Linked DNA regions of Homo sapiens: regions 1 and 3 are each linked to region 2. Evidence: promoter capture Hi-C in 16 types of primary human blood cells and fetal thymus (Javierre and others, 2016). All regions are on one chromosome and are shown on one strand. Each heading gives the region's core, a stretch centred on a gene start or on the middle of the fragment in contact. The rest is flanking DNA. Distances are from core to core; before and after follow the strand shown. Region 1 overlaps CXCL17 (C-X-C motif chemokine ligand 17). Region 2 holds the start of DEDD2 (death effector domain containing 2). Region 3 overlaps LIPE (lipase E, hormone sensitive type).

Region 1 (2,700 bases), core at 157-2,656, 220 kb after region 2:
AGGCATGTTGCTGTGTCATCTTCATAACACATTTTTAATGAATGCATAATACTCTCAATAATTATGTGTTCCAAATTATTTAACTGCTTTCCCATTGCTGAATATTTAGAAAGTTTTATTTTTTAGATGTTGGTAAATTTCTTTGTTCTTGTAACTGTTTTCCAAATTTTAGATTATTTTCTTGAGAGAGAGTTCCCAAAGTGGAATTACTGGGTCAAAAGTTAAGAATTGCTTTCAGAAGAGCTATACTAATGTTTAAATTTTTTTTCATTTAATTATTTATTTATTTTTTTTGAGACGGAGTCTCACTCTGTCGCCCAGGCTGGAGTGCAGTGTTGTGATCTCGGCTCACTGCAACCTCTGCCTCTCGGGTTCAAGCAATTCTCCTTCCTCAGCCTCCCAAGTAGCTGGGATTACAGGCACCCACCACCATGCCTGGCTAATTTTTGTATTTTTAGTAGAGGCAGGTTTTACCATGTTGGTCAGGCTGGTCTTGAACTCTTAACCTCAAGTGATCCGCTCCCCTCGGCCTCCCAAAGCGTTGGGATTATAGGCATGAGATGCTATGCCTGGCCACTTTATACTTTTTCTCTAAACAAATTTATTTTGCAAAACATCCTCATCCTATGCAATATTATCTGTGAAATTACAGGTTTGATGTATGCTTAGTTTTTTCCTAACATGCATTGGAATAAACACATAAATATTAAAGTAAAAAGAAGCTTATTTACTTTCCACCTAAAATCAGTTTTGGGAACCACTGATACAGTGGCATAAGCATGCACTTTATATCCACATAGGCCTGGGGTCAGCTACTGGCTCTGTCACTTAACTGTCGACTTGGACAAGTCACTTGGCTTCTATGATCCTTGATTCCCTGATTTGTGAAAGGAGGGTGGTAAAATCCTCCTTGCAGAGTTGTTGGGAATAAGTGAGCTGCTGTGGGAGCCCAGTGTCCAGGCGGGTGTTGAGTACATGATGGTTATCATTGTGTTTATTGCTGTGGAATTCTGGTTATTTTCCAAAGTGAGTGTCTATGCTGGAATATTGGGCTTGTGGCTTTCTGCTGATGTGGATGTGTAAAGAAGTTACTTCCACTTGTTAGGATTTGTGGTGCATCTGTCATTATTTTCACTTCCCAGATCCACTACATATTTGCTTTGTGATTTTGGACAAAGTTGTGTAACTTTTCTGTGCCTCATTTTCCTAATTTGTAAGATGTGGTTAATAATATTCCTCCCTTATCCACAGGGGATGCATTCCAAGACCCCCAAGATACTTCAAGTCTCAGATAGTACCAAACCCTATATATATATTTTTTCTACACATATACACTTACGATAAAGTCTAATTTATGAATTAGGCACAGTAAGAGATTAACAATAAGATAGAACAATTTTAAAAATATACTGTAATAGGCCAGGTGGGGGCTCACACCTGTAATCCCAGCACTTTGGGAGGCCGAGGCAGGCGGATCACGAGGTCAGGAGATTGAGACCATCCTGGCTAACACGGTGAAACCCCATCTCTACTAAAAATACAAAAAATTAGCCAGGTGTGGTGGCGCACGCCTTTAGTCCCAGCTACTCGGGAGGCTGAGGCAGGAGAATGGTGTGAACCCAGGAGGCAGAGCTTGCAGTGAGCCGAGATTGCACCACTGCACTCCAGCCTGGGCGACAAGAGACTCTGTCTCAAAAAAAAAAAAAAAAAAAAAAAAAAAATATATATATATATATATATATATAAAATACACACACACACACACACACACACACATATATACTGTAATGAAAATGACGTGAATGTGGTCTCTCTCTCTCTTTGTCTCTTTCTCAAGATAACAATATTTTTGGACCACTGTTGGCGGGTAACTGAAACTGCGATTAAGTGGGGACTACTGTACATGAGTGTGCGTGTGTGTTATTTCCCAGCTCTGACCACTAGAGGGCCTAGAAGCACCAGCACCTACTAGCAATGGACCTATCAGTCAGTGCCCATAGTCTGTAAATATCATTCTCCCATGAAAGGAACTAGGGCTTCCAGGAAAAATAGCTGATCCAGGGCTGGGGCAGAAAAACACAAGAGGAGCCCAAAGCTTCTTGTGGTGTCAGAAAGTAAGGAGCTGCTCAAAAAATGGTGGAGATGTGTCTAAAGGTCACAGAAGCCAACTAGAAGGAGCTCCCAATGGCCAATTTTGGGACAATATGAGCAACATAATAAATAATGATAGTAGTGGATTCCAACCCATAAATACTCATGAGTCCATGCTGATATAAATAAATAACTGAACAAATAAATAAATAAGGAAGAGGCTAGGCATGGTGGCTCACGCCTGTAATCCCAGCACTTTGGGAGGCCAAAGTGGGGGGATCACTTGAGGCCAGGAATTAGAGACCAGCCTGGCTAACATGACAAAACCCCGTCTCTACTAAAAATACAAAAATTAGCTGGGTGTGGTGGTGTCTGCCTGTAGTCCCAGCTACTCAGGAGGCTGAGGTGGGAGGATCGCTTGAGCCCAGAAGGTGGAGGCGGCAGTGAGCCAAGATCACACCACTGCACTCCAGCCTAGGCAACAGAGCAAGACTCTATCTCAAAAAAAAAAAAAAAAAAAAAGAAAAAGAAAAAGGAATAACTCTTTCTTATGGCAGAATTCCGATTAAATAAATGTAGAAGGAACAATGGAAGTAGAAAATCACTATT
Region 2 (2,700 bases), core at 64-2,563:
ACAGTAACAGGACTTCCTTGTGAGATTACTGGGAGACTATAAGGCACTAGTTCATATGAAGGGCTGACAGCTGTGCCTGGCATGAAACAAGCCCTCCGTAAACAGTGGCCAAAATCATCATCACTGATGTGGCCAAATTCCCAAAGCCATGCTTTCTTCCTCTTATGTTGCTCATTGATATTGTGGGAAGAGAGAGTAGCAGAATGGGACATAAGCTGCCTGATATGGCACTGTCCGTATCAGGGCACCAGGGAGGCCCAGCGGGAGCCAGGCCCTTTCCTCCCAGGAAGTGTGACACCCTCCCATTCAACCGTACCTGGCCGGCGCCGCTTGCGCGCCAGGTGCGGCAGCAGGTCGTGGCGGGCCAGCACGCGCAGGAGTTGCCCCAGCAGCCGCAGGTTGCTCTCGTCGCACTGCCCGCGGCGCTCCAGCTCCAGCAGGAGCTCTAGGCCGCTGCGGGCCCGGGCTAAGCCTCCGGCGGCGCCAGGAGCCTCATCCAGCAGAAAGGCCAGGAGCTCCAGCTCGCACTCGGTCAGTTGCCCGCCCACCACCTCGAACATACGGTGAAGCGACAGCATCCCGTAGTAGTCCAGGCACTCATCCTCCTCCCAGCACGGGGCCGGGGTCGACCCGGATAGCGCCATTCCCGGGGGAGGGAGGCGGAACAAGCTCAGAACCCGGCCTAGAACCCACACAGCGGGGAGGGGGCAGTGGTCAGCGACGCGGAGGCCCGAACCCCACACCGCCAGCGCGTCTCCCCCGCCCAATCGCGCCGGGCAGGGCCGCTCCCGCACCCCCAACCGCCTCGGCCTCCCCCTCCCCCGGGAGGGAATGGTCCCGCCCGAGGTCCCCTAAGAACAGGTCGGGACGCCGGAGCCCGCTCGGCTTCTGCCCCCACCACCGTGCTACGTTCGGAGCTCGCCTCCGGACCTGACCAAACGATGCGGCCCAAACAAGCCTCGGGGCCCACCCCGGGGCTCCCTGCTGACTGCCCCTGACTCTGGGTAGGACTGCCCAGACGAGCCCCTTTTCTCCGTCCAGCGGTACCGTCTGATGAGTCCCCCGGCTCTACGCAAGTGGTACCTCCCGAAAGTGACCCTCTGCCCCCTACACAGAGGAGCGACCCAGGCAGCCCCTTTGCTCCACACAGGTGGTACCGTCCGAACCCGACCCCCTCGCCCTGCAAGGGCGGCCCCGCCCGCTCCCCAGAGCCCAGGTGGTCCTGTCTACCCGCCACCAGTCACCATTAGGCCTCTCTGGATCCTCACCAGATTCTGGCGTCCGATGACTCCTGGGCGACGGCCGCAGCCACTTGTTTTGGATCTTTCTGGCACCTTCTCTATTATTACGCCTGCGTCACCTCGCCCCTCCTCCTTCCCCCAACTCGCGCAGGTGCGACCGCCACGCCCCTTCGGCGCATGCGCAGAACGAGGCCTCCAAGCCCCGCCCTTCCTGGGCCGCTTGACCTGCCCCCAACCGAAGCATCTTGGTTCGCGAGTGCTGCGCTTGCGCAGAGCGAGAGCACGCCGCCTCTTGGGCTGTATCTGGTACCCGGTTCCAGGTCCCTACTTCCTGCCCGTGACTCAAGCCACCGGGGCCATGTAGCGCCACGTCACGAGTAGTTGTAACTACTCATCTCATAAACTACAGCCCCCTCCTGATCACGAGCTAGACGCCCACATCACCACTGCCCCTAGTTGCCCGTGGCAAAGTAACACAATCACTACTTTCCCGTCTCCCAGTAAACTCCCAGGCCTTATATGATCTGGTCCTGGGCACTCCTCCATTAGATTGTCCCTCACTTCTAGTGACAACCAGGGATCTACATCTCAACTGTGCTCTCTCGTGATCCCAAATGGAAATCCCGCCCCCCCACCACCACCCCCGCAGTCTATAAGTTCCTTCCCCTGATCAAAACCAGAATTCCCTCATCTCACGTTCAGGACGGATACCTCCTTCCAAGCGGCAACAGAACCCTCCATTCCGACTGTGTACATCTCGATGGCGTCCATCACGACCCCCATCACAGTCAGATGTCTCCACCCAGAGCCAAAACGGCCCCTCCGTAACCCCTTCCAATCTCTGCCCTCCAGGGTCGCCCAGATACCCGCTCCCTAACTTGCAACAACTAGAGAGGGTCTGTCAGGGAGTCTAGGCTGTGGTGTATGCGTGTCCCCTTACCGCGGGGCCTTGGGTGTGACGGTCGCCACGCCCCCCACTTAGGTGACTCAAGGTCAGGACCTGCATGTACTTGAGACAAGTCCCCTCCCTGGACCTCTTCCCACCCCCGCAATTAACTCCTCTTGGGAGTCGGGAGATCTGGGTCCTGCCTAGCACTGGCCCAGTACTGGCTCTGCCTGAGCTGTAGCAGTGAATTCAAAAGAATCGGCTGCGCGCGGTAGCTCACGTCTGTAATCCCAGCACTTTGAGAAGCCGAGGTGGGCGGATCACACGAGGCCAGGAGTTCGAGACCAGCCTGGCCAACATGATGAAACCCTGTCTGTTCTTAGCCGGATGTGGTGGCACGCGCCTGAAATCCCAACTACTTGGGAGGCTGAGACAAGAGAATCTCTTGAACCAGGGAGCAGTAAGCAGAGATAGTGCCACTGCACTCCAGCCTGGGCCACAGGGCGAGACTTTGTCTCAAGAAACAAACAAACGCCAGGTGCGGTGGCTCACGCCTGCATTCCCAGCACTTTG
Region 3 (2,700 bases), core at 13-2,512, 200 kb after region 2:
TTGTGTCTCTGTGTCACATTCTGGTAATTTTCACAGTGTTTCACACTTTTTCATTATTATTATATTTGTTATGATGATCTGTGATCAATGATCTCTGGTGTTACTATTGTGAGTGGGGGCACCACCAACCATGTCCACGTAAGAGGGCGAACTTTACCGATTAATGCTGTGTGTGTTCTGACTGCTCCACTGACCAGCCATTTCCCCCATCTCTCTTCTCGAGCCTCCATATTCCCTAAGACATACAATATTGAGGCCGGGCACGGTGGCTAATGCCTGTAATCCCAGCACTTTGGGAGGCTGAGGCAGGTGGATCACTTGAGGTCAGGAGGTTGAGACCAGCCTGGCCAACATGCTGAAACCCCATCTCTACTAAAAATACAAAAATTAGCTGGGCATGGTGGTGTGTGCCTGTAATCCCAGCTACTCGGGAGGCTGAGGCAGGAGAATCGCTTGAACCCGGGAGGTGGAGGTTGTAGTGAGCCAAGATCACACCATTGTACTCCAGCCTGGAAAATAGAGCGAGAGTCTGTCTCAAATAAATGAAATGAGATGAAAAATAGAATAAAATAAAATAGAAATCAGGCCAATTAACAACCCTACAATGACCTCAAAGTGTTCAAGTGAAAGAAGAGTCTTATGTCTCTCATTTTAAATCAAAAGCCAGAAGTGATTAAGCTTAGTGAGGAAGGCATGTCCAGTGCTGAAACGGGCTAAAAACTAGGCCTCTTCTGCCAGTTAGCTAAGTTGTGAATGCAAAGGAAAAATTCATGAAAGTAATTAAAAGTGCTACTCCAGTGAACACATGAATGATAAGAAAGTGAACCAGTCTTAGCTGGGCATGGTGGCTCATGCCTGTAATCCCAGCACTTTGGGAGGCCGAGGCGGGCGGATCACGAAGTCAGGAGATCGGGACCATCCTGGCTAACACGGTGAAACCCCAGCTCTACTAAAAATACAAAAAATCAGCCGGGCGTGGTGGTGGGTGCCTGTAGTCCCAGCTACTAGGGAGGCTGAGGCAGGAGAATGGCGTGAACCTGGGAAGCGGAGCTTGTAGTGAGCCGAGATCGCGCCACTGCACTCCAGCCTGGGTGACAGAGTGAGACTCCGTCTGGAAAAAAAAAAAAAAAGTGAACTAGGCTTATTGTGGATATGGAGAAAGTCTGAACGGTCTGGATAGAAGGTCAAACCAGCCACATTTCCTTAAGCCAAAGCCTAATCCCAAGCGAAGCCCTATCCCTCTTCAATTCTTTGAAGGGTGAGAGAGGTGAGGAAGCTGCAGAAAAAAGGTTGGAAGCTAGCAGAGGTGGATTCATGAGATTTAAGGAAAGAAGGCATCTCTGTAACATAAAAGTGCAGGGTGACGGCCGGGCATCGTGGCTCACGATTGTAATCCCAGCACTTTGGGAGGCTGAGGCAGGTGGATCACCTGAGGTCGGGAGTTTGAAACCAGCCTGACCAACATGGAGAAACCCCATCTCAACTTAAAATACAAAAAAGAAGCCGGGCGTGGTGGCGCATGCCTGTAATCCCAGCTACTTGGGAGGCTGAGGCAGGAGAATCACTTGAACCTGGGAGGCGGTGGTTGCAGTGAGCCGAGATCGTGCCATTGCACTCCAGCCTGAGCAACAAGAGTGAAACTTTGTCTCAAAAAAAAAAGTGCAAGGTGATGTAGCAAGTGCTGCTGGAGGAGCCGCAGCAAGTTATGCAGAAGATCTAGCTAAGATCATTGATGAAGACGGCTACATTAAGCAACATATTTTCAGTGTAGATAAAACCACCAGGTATTGGAAGAAGATGCCATCCAGGACTTTCCTAGCTGGAGGGGAGGTCAGTGCCTGGGCGCCAAAGCTTCAAGGCCAGGCTGACCCCCTTGTTAGGGGCTAATGCAGCTGGTGACTCAGTTGAAGCCGGTGTTCATTTATCATTCCAGAAATTCTAGGGCCCTCAGGATTACGCCAAATGTACTCTGCCTATGCTCTTAAATGGAACAAAGCCTGGATGACAGCACGTCTGTTTACAGCATGGTTTACTGAATATTTCAAGCCCACTGTTGAGACGGACTGCACAGAAAACAACAAAATATTTCTCAATGACAATGCATGTGGTTACCAAAGGGCCCTGGTGGAGTAGATTAATGTGTTTTCATGCCCGCTAACACATGATCTGTTCTGCAGCCCACCAGCCAAGGAGTAATTTCGACTTTTAAGTCTTGTTATTTGTTATTATTATTATATTTTTTTGAGACGGAGTCTCGCTCTGTCGCCCAGGTTGGAGTGCAGTGGCGCAATCTCAGCTCACTGCAAGCTCCGCCTCCCGGGTTCACGCCATTCTCCTGCCTCAGCCTCCTGAGTAGCTGGGACGACAGGCGCCCGCCACCACACCTGGCTAATTTTTTGTATTTTTAGTAGAGACGGGGTTTCACCATGTTAGCTAGGATGGTCTCGATCTCCTGACCTCGTGATTCGCCTGCCTCGGCCTCCCAAAATGCTGGGATTACAGGCGTGAGCCACTGCGCCCGGCCAATTTCAACTTTTAAGTCTTATTATTTGTTATTCTTATTTTTAAAATTTTTAGTTTTAGAGATGGATTCTTGCTGTGTCACCTGGGCTGGAGTGTAGTGGCACGATCATACCTCACTGCAGCCTTGAACTTCTGGGCTCAAGTGATCCTCCTACTTCAGCCTCCTGAGTAGTGGGG

What was found. The method cuts DNA at HindIII sites, captures the fragments that hold promoters and counts their contacts. A CHiCAGO score of 5 or more calls a contact.
Region 1: a contact is called between a fragment that was not itself captured here and the fragment with the promoter of DEDD2 in region 2, in 2 of 17 cell types (total B cells and fetal thymus). The highest score is 5.4, in total B cells.
Region 3: a contact is called between a fragment that was not itself captured here and the fragment with the promoter of DEDD2 in region 2, in 1 of 17 cell types (fetal thymus). The highest score is 7.0, in fetal thymus.

What each region holds. Positions count from the first base shown.
Region 1 is chr19:42,436,662-42,439,361 of GRCh38, forward strand. The region is part of intron 1 of CXCL17 (C-X-C motif chemokine ligand 17); the gene reads right to left. All of the region lies in intron 1 of LIPE-AS1 (LIPE antisense RNA 1), which reads left to right. Among named protein-coding and RNA genes, the nearest start is that of CXCL17, 4.9 kb to the right of the region's middle. RefSeq lists a silencer at 1,856-2,035. The HindIII fragment of the contact is 1,373 bases long and covers 721-2,093 here.
Region 2 is chr19:42,216,364-42,219,063 of GRCh38, forward strand. DEDD2 (death effector domain containing 2) reads right to left here and starts at 1,314. Exons shown (of 5, transcript NM_133328.4): 1 at 1,269-1,314; 2 at 317-682. The coding sequence starts at 644. RefSeq lists silencers at 445-650, 732-791, 802-901 and enhancers at 1,673-2,549, 2,550-2,700. The HindIII fragment of the contact is 12,709 bases long and covers 1-2,700 here.
Region 3 is chr19:42,414,696-42,417,395 of GRCh38, forward strand. The region is part of intron 1 of LIPE (lipase E, hormone sensitive type); the gene reads right to left. All of the region lies in intron 1 of LIPE-AS1 (LIPE antisense RNA 1), which reads left to right. Among named protein-coding and RNA genes, the nearest start is that of LIPE, 11 kb to the right of the region's middle. The HindIII fragment of the contact is 1,173 bases long and covers 677-1,849 here.